Regions from separate parts of the Homo sapiens genome. Here all the other regions are linked to region 2. Evidence: promoter capture Hi-C in 16 types of primary human blood cells and fetal thymus (Javierre and others, 2016). All regions are on one chromosome and are shown on one strand. Each heading gives the region's core, a stretch centred on a gene start or on the middle of the fragment in contact. The rest is flanking DNA. Distances are from core to core; before and after follow the strand shown. Region 1 overlaps CC2D2B (coiled-coil and C2 domain containing 2B). Region 2 holds the start of BLNK (B cell linker). Region 3 overlaps CC2D2B (coiled-coil and C2 domain containing 2B).

Region 1 (4,459 bases), core at 273-2,772, 300 kb before region 2:
TAATCCTAGCACTTTGGGAGGCCAAGGCAGGCAGATCACCTGAGGTCAGGAGTTCGAGTTCAGCCCGGCCAAAATGATGAAATCCCGTCTCTACTAAAAATACAAAAATTAGCCAGGTGTGGTGGTGGGCACCTGTAATCCCTGGTACTTGGGAGGCTGAGGCAGGAGAATTGCTTGAACCCAGGAGGCGGAGGTTGCAGTGAGCAGTGATTGCACCACTACAATCCAGCCTGGGCAACAGAGCAAGACTCAACCTCAAAAAAAAAAAAAAAAGAAAGAAAAAAGTTATAGTTATGGCAGTAAACTTATATGGAATTGTAGTAAAAAACACACCATATAGAATTAGAAGACCTGGGTTTCATGCCCAGTGAACCTCTATGGGACTGTCTACTCAGCACCCCCTTTTCCTTTCTTCTGGAGCTTTTCCTCCCTCACCACTCCCATAGCTTGTTTAACTCATCCTTGAATTTCATGACCAATCACTACCTTTTTCCTAAGCAATTCAACCTGAGTCTCAACCACTTATAATAAAAACAAACATATTTTCATATACAGCTTCCATTTCCTCACTTATAAAATGAGAATAATATTTATTTCCTATAATTTTTATCAGATTTACATGAGATAAAGAATTTTTAAAGTGCTACTCAAAATTGCTATGATATTATGTTATATGTACCTCATATATTTATTCTCAGAACTGTATTCATAATCCCTTGTATTCAATTCATTTTCTATGGAGCCAGTAAAAGGCATTACACTTTCAAGGACATGACTGGCTGCTTTTCTCATAATCATGTGGATGAAATGCTATAGAGCAATACTTATTTTATATTCTGGTATTTAAAAAAATATATGTTGTTAAGGGTGCTTATTTTTTCCTTTTTCTGTGTTGTATTTTTAGTGATCTATCAGCCATTTCTTTTATATTTAGGTTTATGAAAAAAGTAAAAGGACAAGCTTACTGGCAAAACTATATATACCTTTACCTAACTACACAGAGCTGAAAGGCAAAACCGCTTTGCAATATGTAGAGTTTAGCTCTGATAAGCTGGTCATGCCTGCCGATGGAGAAGTAGGAAGCAGTGAGTTTATTAAAAATATTACATTCCCCCTATTTTCTTCCTGAGTACCATATTCCTAAGTGACCCTGGCTCACTCACATAAGTACAAAATCCTGTATTTACAATATTCTTTTTTGTTTGTTTGTTTGTTTGAGACAGAATCTCACCCAGGATGAAGTGCAGTGGCTCGATCTCAGCTCACTGCAACCTCCACCTCCCAGGTTCAAGCAATTCTCGTGCCTCCAGTAGCTGGGATTACAGATCCCTGCCACCACGCCCATCTAATTTTTGTATTTTTAGTAGAGACAGGGTTTCACCATTTTAACCAGGCTGGTCTCAAACTCCTGATCTCAGGTGATCCGCCCCCCTCAGCCTCCCAAAGTGCTGGGATTACAGGCGTGAGCCACCGCACCTGGCCCTGTGTTTATTCTGTTAAAAATGAATTAAATTATTCATTCAGATGTTAAACTAGATTGTTTAAAGTTTTGTCTTGGGTCAGATTTTTGGGAAATTTCAAATGAGCAGTTAGCACCCACGCTTTTTGCAGGCCATCCAAGGCAAGGACAGAATGCTGTCTGGAAAGCAAGCTCTGCTTTTGAGTGGGCTGGCTGCTCTGCCTCGACCTCTCCTTTAGTGAACCTACAGGTGCTCGCAGACATATGGGTTTGTCTTTGAACTGTATAGGGAAGGGAAGAAGAAAATGAGGGAGGGAAGGAAAGAGGGAGGGACAGAGAAAAGGAGAGAAGAAAGAAGGGATGTTTCTGTTAGTTGTTTTTCAATTGATTTTACTCCTCTTATACGGTTAAATGTAAGTTAGTGCGTCTCTGAGATCACTGTCATTCCTCTCCTTCTCCCCATTATTCCTTTCTTTCACCTTCCTAGGGGTTTGGAAACTACTTGGGCCTATTTGGTGAAAAGTAAGGAAGTATGAACAAGTGAGCAAGGAGGAGGGGGCGGGGGGAAATGGGCAGAGAACGAGGGAAGAACGGAGTTTGCTTCAAGTCCAGATGAAGCAGAAAAATAAGCTTATGGAGACCCGGGACAAAAGACTCAGGACTCAAAAAATTTAGGGAACACTGTGCACTCAGCAAAAGTTTTAAGAAGTATTGTTAAACTCTTTGGAGATTAGATGCAGAAGACTTGGGAATGTAAGGAAAGAGGAGAAAGAACAGCTTGCTGGCCTCTTTTTCTGCTGCCAATGGTCCTTTCTTGCTGGAAGCCACTCCCACAGAGAATGGTTAAGAAGCCTCCAGGCATGAAAGGAAGAAAATCATGATATTCATCTCTACATATTCATCTCAATCTTTACCTTCTCTTTTGTAGTCCTTGAAGGATCTTAGAGAGGAGATGAGGGAGAGCACTAAGATAAGAGTGGAGTTAGGGCCGGGCGTGGTGGCTCACACCTGTAATCCTAGCACTTTGGGAGGCCCAGGCAGGTGGATCACCTCAGGTCAGGAGTTCGAGACCAGCCTGGCCAACATGGTAAAACCCCATCTCTACTAAAAAATACAAAAAATTAGCCAGGCATGGTGGTTGACACCTGTAATCCCAGCTACTTGGGAGCCTGAGGCAGGAGAATCATTTGAACCCAGGAGGTGGAGGTTGCAGGGAGCTGAGATTGCCCCACTTTACTCCAGCCTGGGCATCAAGAGCAAAACTCTGTCTCAAAAAAAAAAAAAAAAAAAGAGTGGGGTTAGCACAGATCTTCCTTTGTGTTCCTAGAGTTCCACAAGTAAAACTCAGGAAAAAACCCACAATGTGCTTCAACTGCACTTAAAACAATTCATATGTTTTTAATGCCTTTTATAAACAGATGTGCCTTTTCTTCTTGAGGGAAATGGAACTGAAGAACTCTGTCTTTTGACATCAGGAAAACTTAGCTATTCTCTATCATGGAGCTTAGATGAAAATGGTCTTCCTCTGATACCTATGCCACAATCATTAAGATCTTCTTACTGCAGGTAATAAACTTTTATCTTTGAAAAATAATGCCAGGTCTCAGCAAAGCATCACACAAAACATATTATGTGTAAAAGAGAAAACTTGAGCAGCAATAGGAAGAGTTTAGTCTATTTGAATGTTGATTTATCTTTTATTTAAATCACTCTACTAAGGCAGTATGTGTATTTATATGTAAGAGAATGTGTCCCTTCAGTGCTTGGAATTATAGCCACACAGATGATGAGAGAGGCATTCCCAGAGTCCCTCACTTGTAGGCAAAGGTCAAGACTCCCAGGGACTTTATTTCTGGGGCCTGTATATCTCCCAGTCATTCTGGATTAGCAAAGAATCATTTATGCATTATCATCATTCTGGGAGTTCCCAGAAGGGTTGGGGTTAATTTTCAGATTAATTATTTGTGGGATTACTAGAAATAAGTACAGTAAATTCTATGAAAATGATGATAATGCTGGCTTCCATAATGTGCTATGTTTGAGGGAAATGGTAAATATAAAGGAAAAAGTTTATTTCATCATTTAAAATAATGAACAATGATAACAAAAAGATATCCTCTCCCCTCCACATCTTAACACATATTTTTAAAAATAAACGGAAATGAAAAGCTTCATATAACTTATGGCATTCTAGAAAGGGCAAAACTGTGGAGACAGTAGAAAGATCAGTGGTTGCCAGAGGTTCTAGGGGGAGATAAGAATGAATAGTTGGAGCACACGGGATTTTTAGAGTAGTGAAACTATTTTGCATAACATTATAATGGTGGATACATGTCATTACACAGTTGTCAAAACCTACAGAATTTACAAGACCAAGGGTGAACCCTAATGTAAACTATGGACTTTGAGTGACAATGATGTGTCAATGTAGGTTCATGGATTGTAAAAAAAGGTACCACTCCAGCGAGGGATGTTAACAGCTGGGGAGGCTGTGCATGTTTATGGGGATGGGGTACATGGGAACTCTCTGTGCCTTTTGTTCAATTTTGCTGCAAATCTAAAACTTCTCTAAAAAATTATGTTTTAAAAATATTATAGTTTTGAAAATTGTTATACATAACTGGATTAAATGGAAAATCAAAACTGAAATTAGAGACTGTTTAAAAAAGAACAGGGAGAACATTATATATAAAAACCAGTAGCATATGGCCAGAGTCATAGTAAGAGTTCATAAATGCTTTTCTTCGGTACATAAGAAACAAAGAGAAAAAAGCTAAATGGCAGTAGCACAAGGAGATCGTTGGTATGGACGAAACTGACATAGTGGGGGTAGTTTACTTACCAAGGAGTTTGACAATAAAAAAATGCTAAAAAATAACAGAAGACAAAAGAATCAAGGTACAGATTTCTTAAAAATTGGGGCCATATTTATCTTCTTAAAAGAAGTGATTAAAAGTGATGAGCTTACAAAAGATTGAAATCAGTGGGGAAAAAGACCCA
Region 2 (4,539 bases), core at 639-3,138:
AGCATAACCTGTTCTCCAACTCCCTATGGTCAGGGCACTCACCATCCTTTGCAACCTGGACCCACCTTATTTGTCCAATCATACCAGGACCTTCAGGTCCCACATTCCCTACTCTTTAGTTTCTGCTGGACAGAAAACTCTCCTCACTATCCCACAAATGGACCGTACTTGTGTTAAGCTTTGAGTGACAGCCTCTGTATTTCCTCCCTCCCAGCACATAACATGTTTCCTCCAATTCTCCAGTATTTTATAATTTTACCCACCTCTCAAAGCCTACCTCTTAAAAGTATCTTCTCTATGAAACCTCCTCCTGCTACTCTAAGTCTCTTCTTACATTCCTTCTGTCGCTTACAGCTTCCATTGTATCACCCCCGCCCCTCATGAGGGTGTAGCTATTTGAGACCAAGGGCAAGAATGAGGTGCCTTCTTGTCCCGTCAGTGCTGATCACACAGCAGCACTCAACAGCATGTTCTTGAAATGGTTGAACACAGCTGATGTTGCCTACTGATCCCAGATCATTGATGCATTTCACATTACCTTTTACCAAGCACCTCCTAGGCATAAGACCTGTATTCTACTGTGAAGGGTTGTCCCTCTGCCAATCCAGACTTTCTCTTAAATATTGTCTCAAAAGCTTCAATTCTCTGGCTCATTGTTATCTGTGATTACTTGTCTGCTACATGTGTCACATCACCCCCTGAACATTTGGCTAAGTTCTAATATGTAGTCAGAATAGAAAACACTCCCTGAACAGAGGGGAACATCACACACCGGGGCCTGTCAAGGTGGGGGACTAGGGGAGGGAGAGAATTAGGAGAAATACCTAATGTAGATGACAGGTCGATGGGTGCAGCAAACCACCATGGGATGTGTATACCTATGTAACAAACCTGCACCTTCTGCACATGTACCCCAGAACTTAAAAGTATAATAAAAAAAAAAAACTGTTAAAAAATGTGAAAAAAAAACTGCACTCCCAGAACTTTAAAAGTTCCAGTCTCTGAAAGCCATGATGCCATTACAATGAGACAAAAAGAAGACCTTCAAAAGCAAAATTTGGGGAAGTTGTCTTTTCCATAGCTCCTTGACTCACGCCCATGGGGCCGCTTCTGGTTTATTCTTTTTGAGAGGCTTGTTATGGATATTGTTACATTGACATGAGGGCATTGGAAAGACAGATCTAATCCCCCCAAACACACTTGTCATATACACCCACAAAATAAATGAGACAATAAAACAATGAATAACAAATGATTACAGCTATCCTTAAAATTAAATAGTAACCTGCAATAAAATGGGTGAGGACTCAGTTTAGAGAAACCCTTCCTTAGAAAAGTTGGTTGCATTCAGATTCTAAAAGTTGACCTTCAGTAGAATCTAAGCCCTTGGCATTTGTTTTATTATCTTTCCAGAGCTTTACACTTTATTGTAAGAGGCAGCTAAAGCAAGTCTCTCTTGTTCCTACACATTTCTTTAAGAACTCAGTTCACTTCCCTATAGCAAGTGCCACCCAATGCTTTCCCTAAAAGCTCAGTCCACTTCCCTATAGTAAGTGCCACCCACTGGAAACTAGCAAAGCATTCCAGGATTTCAGTATTTCTGAGATGCCATAAGAGCACTGGGGGGAAAAAAAGGAGATGAAGAAGGGTATTGGGTGGGGAAAATCTTACCTCAACTTCTGACTGGCGGGGACGGTTATTTTATTAAGCTTGTCCATTCTGTTTGGTAATTGTAAGAGACACGAATAACTGTCCAGTGGTCACGTCAGCAGTTCCTGGCCCTCCTAGGGAGCAGCATGGTAAGCCTCTGGTCTCAAGGGTTCCGGCCACTCAAGTCTGATTTCTGAGAGTGCAGGCTGCTGGCAAACACCCCTGCTCTAGGGAGAAGTAAAACTTGCCCGAGCACATAGTCAAGTTTCATGTTTCTACATAATCATGTGATCTGGATAGCCAGCCAGCTTGGTGATTACTCCACTTTGTGTAAACTTTAATAATGAAACCTATTGGGCAGGCAAATTTCTTTCCAGCTGCTTTCTTTTACAATCAGATTTGTAACCAGGTTAGGACAAGTTTCTGGCTGGTCACTACTTCCTGTTTGTCCCAAACACATATAGTCTGTTTCCAGCAGGTGCATGCTATAACTGGGAACTTCCTGGGCTCAAGGAAAAGCAGAGTAATCAAGTCCATCTGAACCTCTCTTGGAGACTTTCTGCTTATTTGCATAAAGTTATGGATAAGCTTTTTCTACTTATAGAACCATTATATAAAAATGGCATTTTTGTGCTTTTTCCTACCCCCCGATGCGGGCAATACGTTTAAAAATAAATATCAGGTTGTCAGTGGCATGGTGGTAACAGTTTACTCAGAGAATTAGAGTATCTCTTTTTCTGGAGCTCTATTTAAAATGGGATGGGCAATTCTCTGTTCATCTGGGGGTAGGGATGGATGACTCAGGAAAGGGGAGATGAACTCTATCGTCAGATGTGCAGCCTCCTTATTGCCTGATAGAGTCAGGAGTTACCTCGCCGATAGCCAGATGCTTTCAAACAAACCAGGATGTACCCAAAAGTCAGATGAGAACAAATCTAACAGTTTCACAACAATGCAATTCCTACATCAGGCCATTCTGAAGTCCTAAAAGCAGAATGCCATTCCCCTCCTTGCATTTGCCTCTTTCTGTCCTGTCCACCACTTGCTCATCACACCCAGTGACACGCCAGACACGAGGCCATCTCAAGGTCAGACAGGTGGGGTGAGGCTGGGAGGAGGGAGCCATACCTGTAGGGGCTGAACCTATTCAGAGAACTCTACTTCCCTCCTGGAAGACTTTATATTTCCTTCTGCCTAATCTGAAAAATGCTGATTTACCTGTTGTTTAAAGAGCAGCCCGCAGTCCAGGGTCAAGGAGGAAGAAAATGGGAGGGAAGTGACCTTTTGTACCTGGACACACTTTTCTGCAGCCATTGAGAATGCCCTGCTCACCCTTGTGGAATAAAGTACACGTTTCCAACATTTATCAAGGGAACCAGTCTTCTCCTGGGTCAGAATACACAGCAGGACAAAGTAAAGAGCTCTCAGTTACCTCTCCTGTTGCAGACCCAAGATCTGGCTGAAGACAGTGGGGAAAGAGGAGAAGACAGAAGAGGAGAAGGAGGTGGAGGAAGAGGAGGAGGAGGAGGAGGAAGAAGCGGAGGAGGAGGAGGAAGAAGAAGCGGAGGAGGAGGAGACAGAGGAGGAGGGGGAGAAGGAACAGCGGCAGTGGTAGAGGTGGAAACCGTGGATGGATTTCTTCCCTCCTGTGCCTCTTCTTTGCACAAATGGATGTTCTGTCTTTTTCCAGGTAACCTTGATTATTCACATTCATCACTGCCTATGAATTTCTGGTTTGACCAGATGTTTAGGAGCAGAATCTTCAGAGCTGTTGAAGGGTGGGGCCCTTCTGCTTGGCCAGGACACTGACTTGGCCAGGCCAGCAAGAGAGCAGACAATGTTGCATGAGAAAAATGCAAGTGCTTGTCTCCTGCCATCATTCATTTTCCCCAATCTGGCTGCTCAATTTTCTTGCAGTGCATCCTGAAGGAGCTCTAGACCCTGCCTCCTCCTCTCCCATAGTTCCTAACTGAAAGAAACAAGTAGACTAGGATGGTAAAGGCACATACAATGTCATCAAAGATCAGGAAATTCAGGCTTCACTGAATGAAATGATAATAGTCAGCTCGTTCTTTCTGAATTATTGTAAAATGCACCCCATAAGTCACTTGACTTTTCTCTCCACCAACAACTTTGCTCAACACCTGGCTGACAACTTCATATTTCCCCAGAGAAAAAGACCAGAGGCAAAGGTTACACTTCTGCTTTTTCTTTTTACAGCCACTGGTCTTTCTTCTTTTTACTGTATTTAGTCTAACATGATGAAAATGAGAGACTGTGTTTCCAGACTGGACATTTTACCCCATGTGAAATACAGTGTGACAGCCTAATGTTCCAGGCCTGCCACAACTGCTTTGGCTTCTAAGTTGCTCCATGACTAAATGAAAATTTTAAATTATTTGACTCTAATTTTGAAGTGGGGAAAACCTGTTTTTTTTTTTTTTTTTTTTTTTTTTTTTTGAGACGGAGTCTTGCTGTCACCCAGGCTGGAGTGCAGTGGCACGATCTTGACTCACTGCAAGCTCCGCCTCCTGAGTTCACACCATTCTCCTGCCTCAGCTTCCTGAGTAGCTGGGACTACAGGCACCCGCCACCATGCCTGGCTAATTTTTTGTATTTTTTAGTAGAGACAAGGTTTCACCGTGTTAGCCAGGATGGTCTCGATCTCCTGACCTCGTGATCCGCCCGCCTCGGCCTCCCAAAGTGCTGGGATTACAGATGTGAGCCACCACACCTGGCCGGGGAAAACCTTTTTAAGCAAAACACAAAAAGGAAAAACAGTGGTAAATCTAGATACATATAAATTTAAACTTTTATGTGACAAATGCACCATAAATGAAAGTCAAAATACAAATGACAGGCCCCATAACTGGATTACCAAAAAGGTTA
Region 3 (4,702 bases), core at 341-2,840, 270 kb before region 2:
AAATCTGCTGGCAGAATTCCCTCTTCCACAGGGGAGGTCAGTCTTTTGTCTATTAAGGCCTTCAACTGATTGGATAAGGTCCACCCTTATTATGGAGGGTTATCTGCTTTACTCAAAGTCAACTGGCTTAAACTGTACCTAAAAAATACCTTCAGAGGCCAGGTGCAGTGGCTCACATCTGTAATCCCAGCACTTTGGGAGGTCGAGGCGGGTGGATCACTAGAGGTCAAGAGTTTGAGACCAGCCTGGCCAAGATGGTGAGCTGTGCTGGTGGATGCCTGTAATCCCAGCTACTTGGGAGGCTGAGGCAGGAGAATCGCTTGAACTCAGGAGGAGGAGGTTGCAGTGAACAGAGATCGCGCCACTGCACTCCAGCCTGGGCGACAGAAGGAGACTCCGTCTCAAAGAAAAAAACAAAAAACAAACAAAAAAACCTTCAGAGAAACATCTAGAATAATGTTTGACCAAATATCTAGAAACTGTGTCTCAGCCCAGTTGACACATAAAATTAGCCATCATAGTCATATAGTTGGAATCATACAGTATGGAGCCATTTCAGATTGGCTTTCTTCCATGAAAAACATGCCTGTCAAGTTTTCTCCATGTCTTTTTATAGCTTGATTGCTTACTTCTTTTTACCCCTGCATAATATTCTATTATATGGATGTATCACAGTTTACTTATTTATCCACATTGAGCTTCTTTCCATAGGTTCATTGGTCATTGGTATTTTCTTTTCTGTGAAATGACCTTTCATTACTTTTGTCTGTTTTTCTTTTTTTTTTCTTTTTGGAAATTATTTTATTTCTTCCATGATGATTTAGAGGGACTATCTTCAAACCAGTACAAATATTTCATAAATAATATCTGACTGTTTTCTAACCAATTGAGTAATTTGTTGCACAATAAGCCACCTCACATCTAAGCAAGAAATACATTAAATTTGACTAGTAAAGACATTATATAATGCATTAGGACACAATTAAAATTTGCTTTAAATATTTATTTGAGAGAGAGGACACCACACTTCTTCTCAATGAAGAGAAACATTTTTACAGTCCAGAGGTCTTTTTTTTTTTTTTTTTTTTAACACCAATTATGCCATGACTTTATAGGGAGTAGGTTCCAGCAGCTCAGGCTCCTTCCCATTGGGTCTCACAAAGGGTGCTTCTCTGGGTGAAGCAGGCTGGCACTTCAGTTGAACCCAGGTACCTTTCTCTCTGGCTTCTTTTTCTGATCATTTTCCTTCACGTGTTTCGGGAAGCTATCTCAGCTCTTAGAGCACTTATGTGCTCAATACACACATTAATTCTCTTGGCAAGAATCTTGCCCTTCTTTGTTTACAACAATGCCAACAGCATGTTGGGTAACATTGTAGACTCTTCCAGTTTTGCCGTGGTAACACCTGTGGGCATTCCTTTTTAAACAATATCCATTCTCTTGATGTCTACAATATCACCTTTCTTATAGATTCGCATATACATGGCCAAAGGAACAACTCCATGTTTTCTAAAAGGCCTAGAGAACATACATCAGGTGCCTTTCTTCTTTTCCTTTGCGTTCATCATTTTGGCGAATTACTGGAAGATGGCTGCTCCAGCCGAAAGGATACTTTTCTCTATTTTTCTATTGTTTCGTCTGTCTTTATTTATTTATAATAAATAAATAAATAAATAAATAAAATGTATTTATATATTTATCTTTGAGGCGGAGTCTTGCTCTGTCGCCCAGGCTGGAGTGCAGTGGCGCGATCTGGGCTCACTGCAAGCTCTGCCTCCCAGGTTCGAACCATTCTCCTGCCTCAGCCTCCCGAGTAGCTGGGACTACAGGTGCCTGCCACCACGCCCAGCTAATTTATTTGTATTTTTGATAGAGACAGGGTTTCACCATGTTAGTCAGGATGGTATTGATCTCCTGACCTCATGATCCTCCCGCCTCGGCCTCCCAAAGTGCTGGGATTACAGGTGTGAGCCACCGTGCCCGGCCTGTCTTTATTTTTTTTAAAGCAATTCTCTATATATTATGGATACCAGCCCTTTGTGAGTTATATGTGTTAAAACTATCTTTCCCTAATGGCTTGACTTTTCATTTTCTTTATGATGCATTTTGATGAAAAGAAGTTTTAAACTGTACCAGTCCTTTCCTTTATGGTATGTCCTTTTAAAAAAATCTTCTTTAATAAATAGTGGTCTTCCTTTACTTTCCTTACTTTAGAACATATGTCAACTTGCATTAAAATTTTAGACCATCGCATTTTCTGAAGAATGAGTGAGGATATCTTTTTCAATAACATTCCTGTATATAAAAGTATTTTTAGTTAAAATAGTTAATAAATCAGATTTTTAAATCCAAAAAGAAATATACACCTATGTTCCTGCTTGCTACCAAGAAGGAATAAAACAGATATAGACTAGAATAATCCTTTATGTGGTGTTTAGGGACACACACATACACACACACACAGACCCAGTAAAATGGATCTAATTCCATTGCCACTTCCTTTAGTATTGCTATGCTTTACTGCTGGGTATAAATTTCTCTCATGAGCAGGTATGTGTAGCTATTAAACATCTAAACATTTTTTCAAATAATATGTTTCTTTTTATTTTGAAAGGTGGGAAAATTTACTTCTTATTCATACACATAGAGCAGGATTGTCGTGGATTAGCCATCATTTTATATTTTTTTATAATTTATTTTCTATAATTTCCTACGAATATTTTATATTTCATGTTTTCATCGTTTATATGATTTTATAGGATTTCTATGCTTTATCTGAAGCCTATGTTAATATATAACCCCACTAACAAAGGCTAAAGGAACTCAGAAGAACCGATATAATCACTTGCATATATGTGATGACATCTTGGAGGCTATATAAACATTCACATCCCAGCCACCCCTTCTGAAAGTGAAAGGCTTCAGATCCTAAACAGGATTTGCAAGGAAAGGGAGACCCTGTTTATGCCATTATTTCAAATTAGGGGTAGGGGAACTATAAGGAAGCACACCTTAGAATTTTGTTAGCTTAGATACTATGGAACTTCTGCTATTAGCAGAAATCAAATTTGTTCTTCCAGATTCAACATAGGCTCAATTATATTTTCAGAGTCATTGGCCAGAGTTCCTAAACAGATATTCTTGTTATTTGGCTGCCTGTCTGAATCTTGTACCTCTCACTTTGCCTTGTTTTCTGACACTTGCTTTCTTGAACTATTTATTCTTTGTGTGTGAAGGAAATTATTGACTTAAAGGGAAATCTGTTATATAATATTGTATAATATCAAGTTAAATAATTAACATATAAAATGTATTTGTTTGAAAAGTTTGTAAATGTAAAATGTGTGGTCATGTGTGTTTGCAAATATTTGGAATATTAATGTAGACATTAGAGTTAGAAGAAATATACTGTATTAAATAAATTTAGGAGAACATAAAACAGTCAATAAGATACATAAACTTATAAGTGAACTAATGAGAAGACTTGGGAGTGTTTACATCCTTGCAATTATAGCAGTGAAATAGGCCAAGAACAATGTAGAGCACAACCAAGTGGATCAGAGGCTTTGGATAAGGCAAAACCATCCAGCTACTACTTTTTGTTGCCTCTGATACAAGACCCCAACTCCCCTCTTCTTGTGACATTTTAGTGAATAAAAACCACAAGCAAATGGATAAGTAGTCATAATAAATAATATTTATAAGTAATAAATAATATTAAATAATTAGCTCCATAAGCCCTTTCTGGGGGAAGAATTATGGTAACATCTGAAGAACATTTTAACAGAATACAGAATGCAAAATAATGCAGAAGGACTTAAGTGATGTCAGGAATATACTAAGTTAACAAGCTAAAAAATGTTGTAAGGATGACAGTTGTTCTTTCTCCTGCTAGCACAATGTTGTAAATAAATATTGCCTGCCCCGCCCTTTCTTAGATTCTGGCAACATGAAAGGAAATCCTTGAGGAACAAAGTAGGGGAGTCAGCTAGTTATTTTATCACTAGGAAATATAAGGAAACTTCCACTTAAAATTGTTCTCTAAACTCAACTAGCATTTTTCAATCATCATTGCTTGTAGGCTTCAGAAAGTTAGAGAAGCTGTTGAAGATCCTTTGAAATAGTGGTTGCTTCCTTAAGCAACAAGATTCAACAAGTAATGTCAGTGGCAGCTGTATAATGAAAAGACCTGGTCTTTGGAGTTTGTTAGAACCGGGTCCAGCCAAGTGTGGTGGTACAGCCTGTAGGCCCAGCTACTCGAGAGGCTGAGGTAGGAGGATCACTTGAGCCCAGGAGTTCAAGATCAGCCTGGGAAAGATAGACCCTGTCTCAAAAAATAAATAAATATATATATATATATATATATAGAAATAAATAAACTAAATAAAAATATTAAAAAGAAGAAAAGCTATGTCCAGATCAGGCTCTGTGATTTGCTGGTGGCATTACCTTGAGTAAGTTATTTAACTTCTGTGAGCTTCAGTTTCTCTGTGTAAAGTAACCTATTGTACAGGATTGAGATTTCCATCACTGTTAAATGTTTGATGGAGATTCAGTGCACAAACTGGAGCTGAGAGTGAAAGTTCATTGCTCATGATATACACTACCCTTTCAACTACCTCCAAAATGTACCTAATCAAGAATGCCATCAGCAGACAGCTTGCAAAATTAAATGCACTCCATTATCCCAGTTTCTGCTTGG

What was found. The method cuts DNA at HindIII sites, captures the fragments that hold promoters and counts their contacts. A CHiCAGO score of 5 or more calls a contact.
Region 1: a fragment that was not itself captured here is called in contact with the fragment with the promoter of BLNK in region 2 in 1 of 17 cell types (endothelial precursors); the score reaches 5.7 in endothelial precursors.
Region 3: a fragment that was not itself captured here is called in contact with the fragment with the promoter of BLNK in region 2 in 1 of 17 cell types (endothelial precursors); the score reaches 5.0 in endothelial precursors.

Annotation. Positions count from the first base shown.
Region 1 is chr10:95,971,132-95,975,590 of GRCh38, forward strand. CC2D2B (coiled-coil and C2 domain containing 2B) reads left to right here. Exons shown (of 35, transcript NM_001349008.3): 16 at 935-1,085; 17 at 2,878-3,025. All of the region lies in intron 2 of ENTPD1-AS1 (ENTPD1 antisense RNA 1), which reads right to left. Among named protein-coding and RNA genes, the nearest start is that of CC2D2B, 65 kb to the left of the region's middle. The HindIII fragment of the contact is 1,129 bases long and covers 959-2,087 here.
Region 2 is chr10:96,269,681-96,274,219 of GRCh38, forward strand. It overlaps BLNK (B cell linker), which reads right to left and starts at 1,889. Exons shown (of 17, transcript NM_013314.4): 1 at 1,672-1,889. The coding sequence starts at 1,718. RefSeq lists enhancers at 635-754, 785-834, 2,944-3,043, 3,530-3,579, 3,710-3,769. The HindIII fragment of the contact is 529 bases long and covers 1,708-2,236 here.
Region 3 is chr10:95,998,678-96,003,379 of GRCh38, forward strand. All of the region lies in intron 24 of CC2D2B (coiled-coil and C2 domain containing 2B), which reads left to right. All of the region lies in intron 2 of ENTPD1-AS1 (ENTPD1 antisense RNA 1), which reads right to left. It also overlaps the pseudogene RPL21P90. Among named protein-coding and RNA genes, the nearest start is that of CCNJ, 43 kb to the right of the region's middle. The HindIII fragment of the contact is 7,823 bases long and covers 1-4,702 here.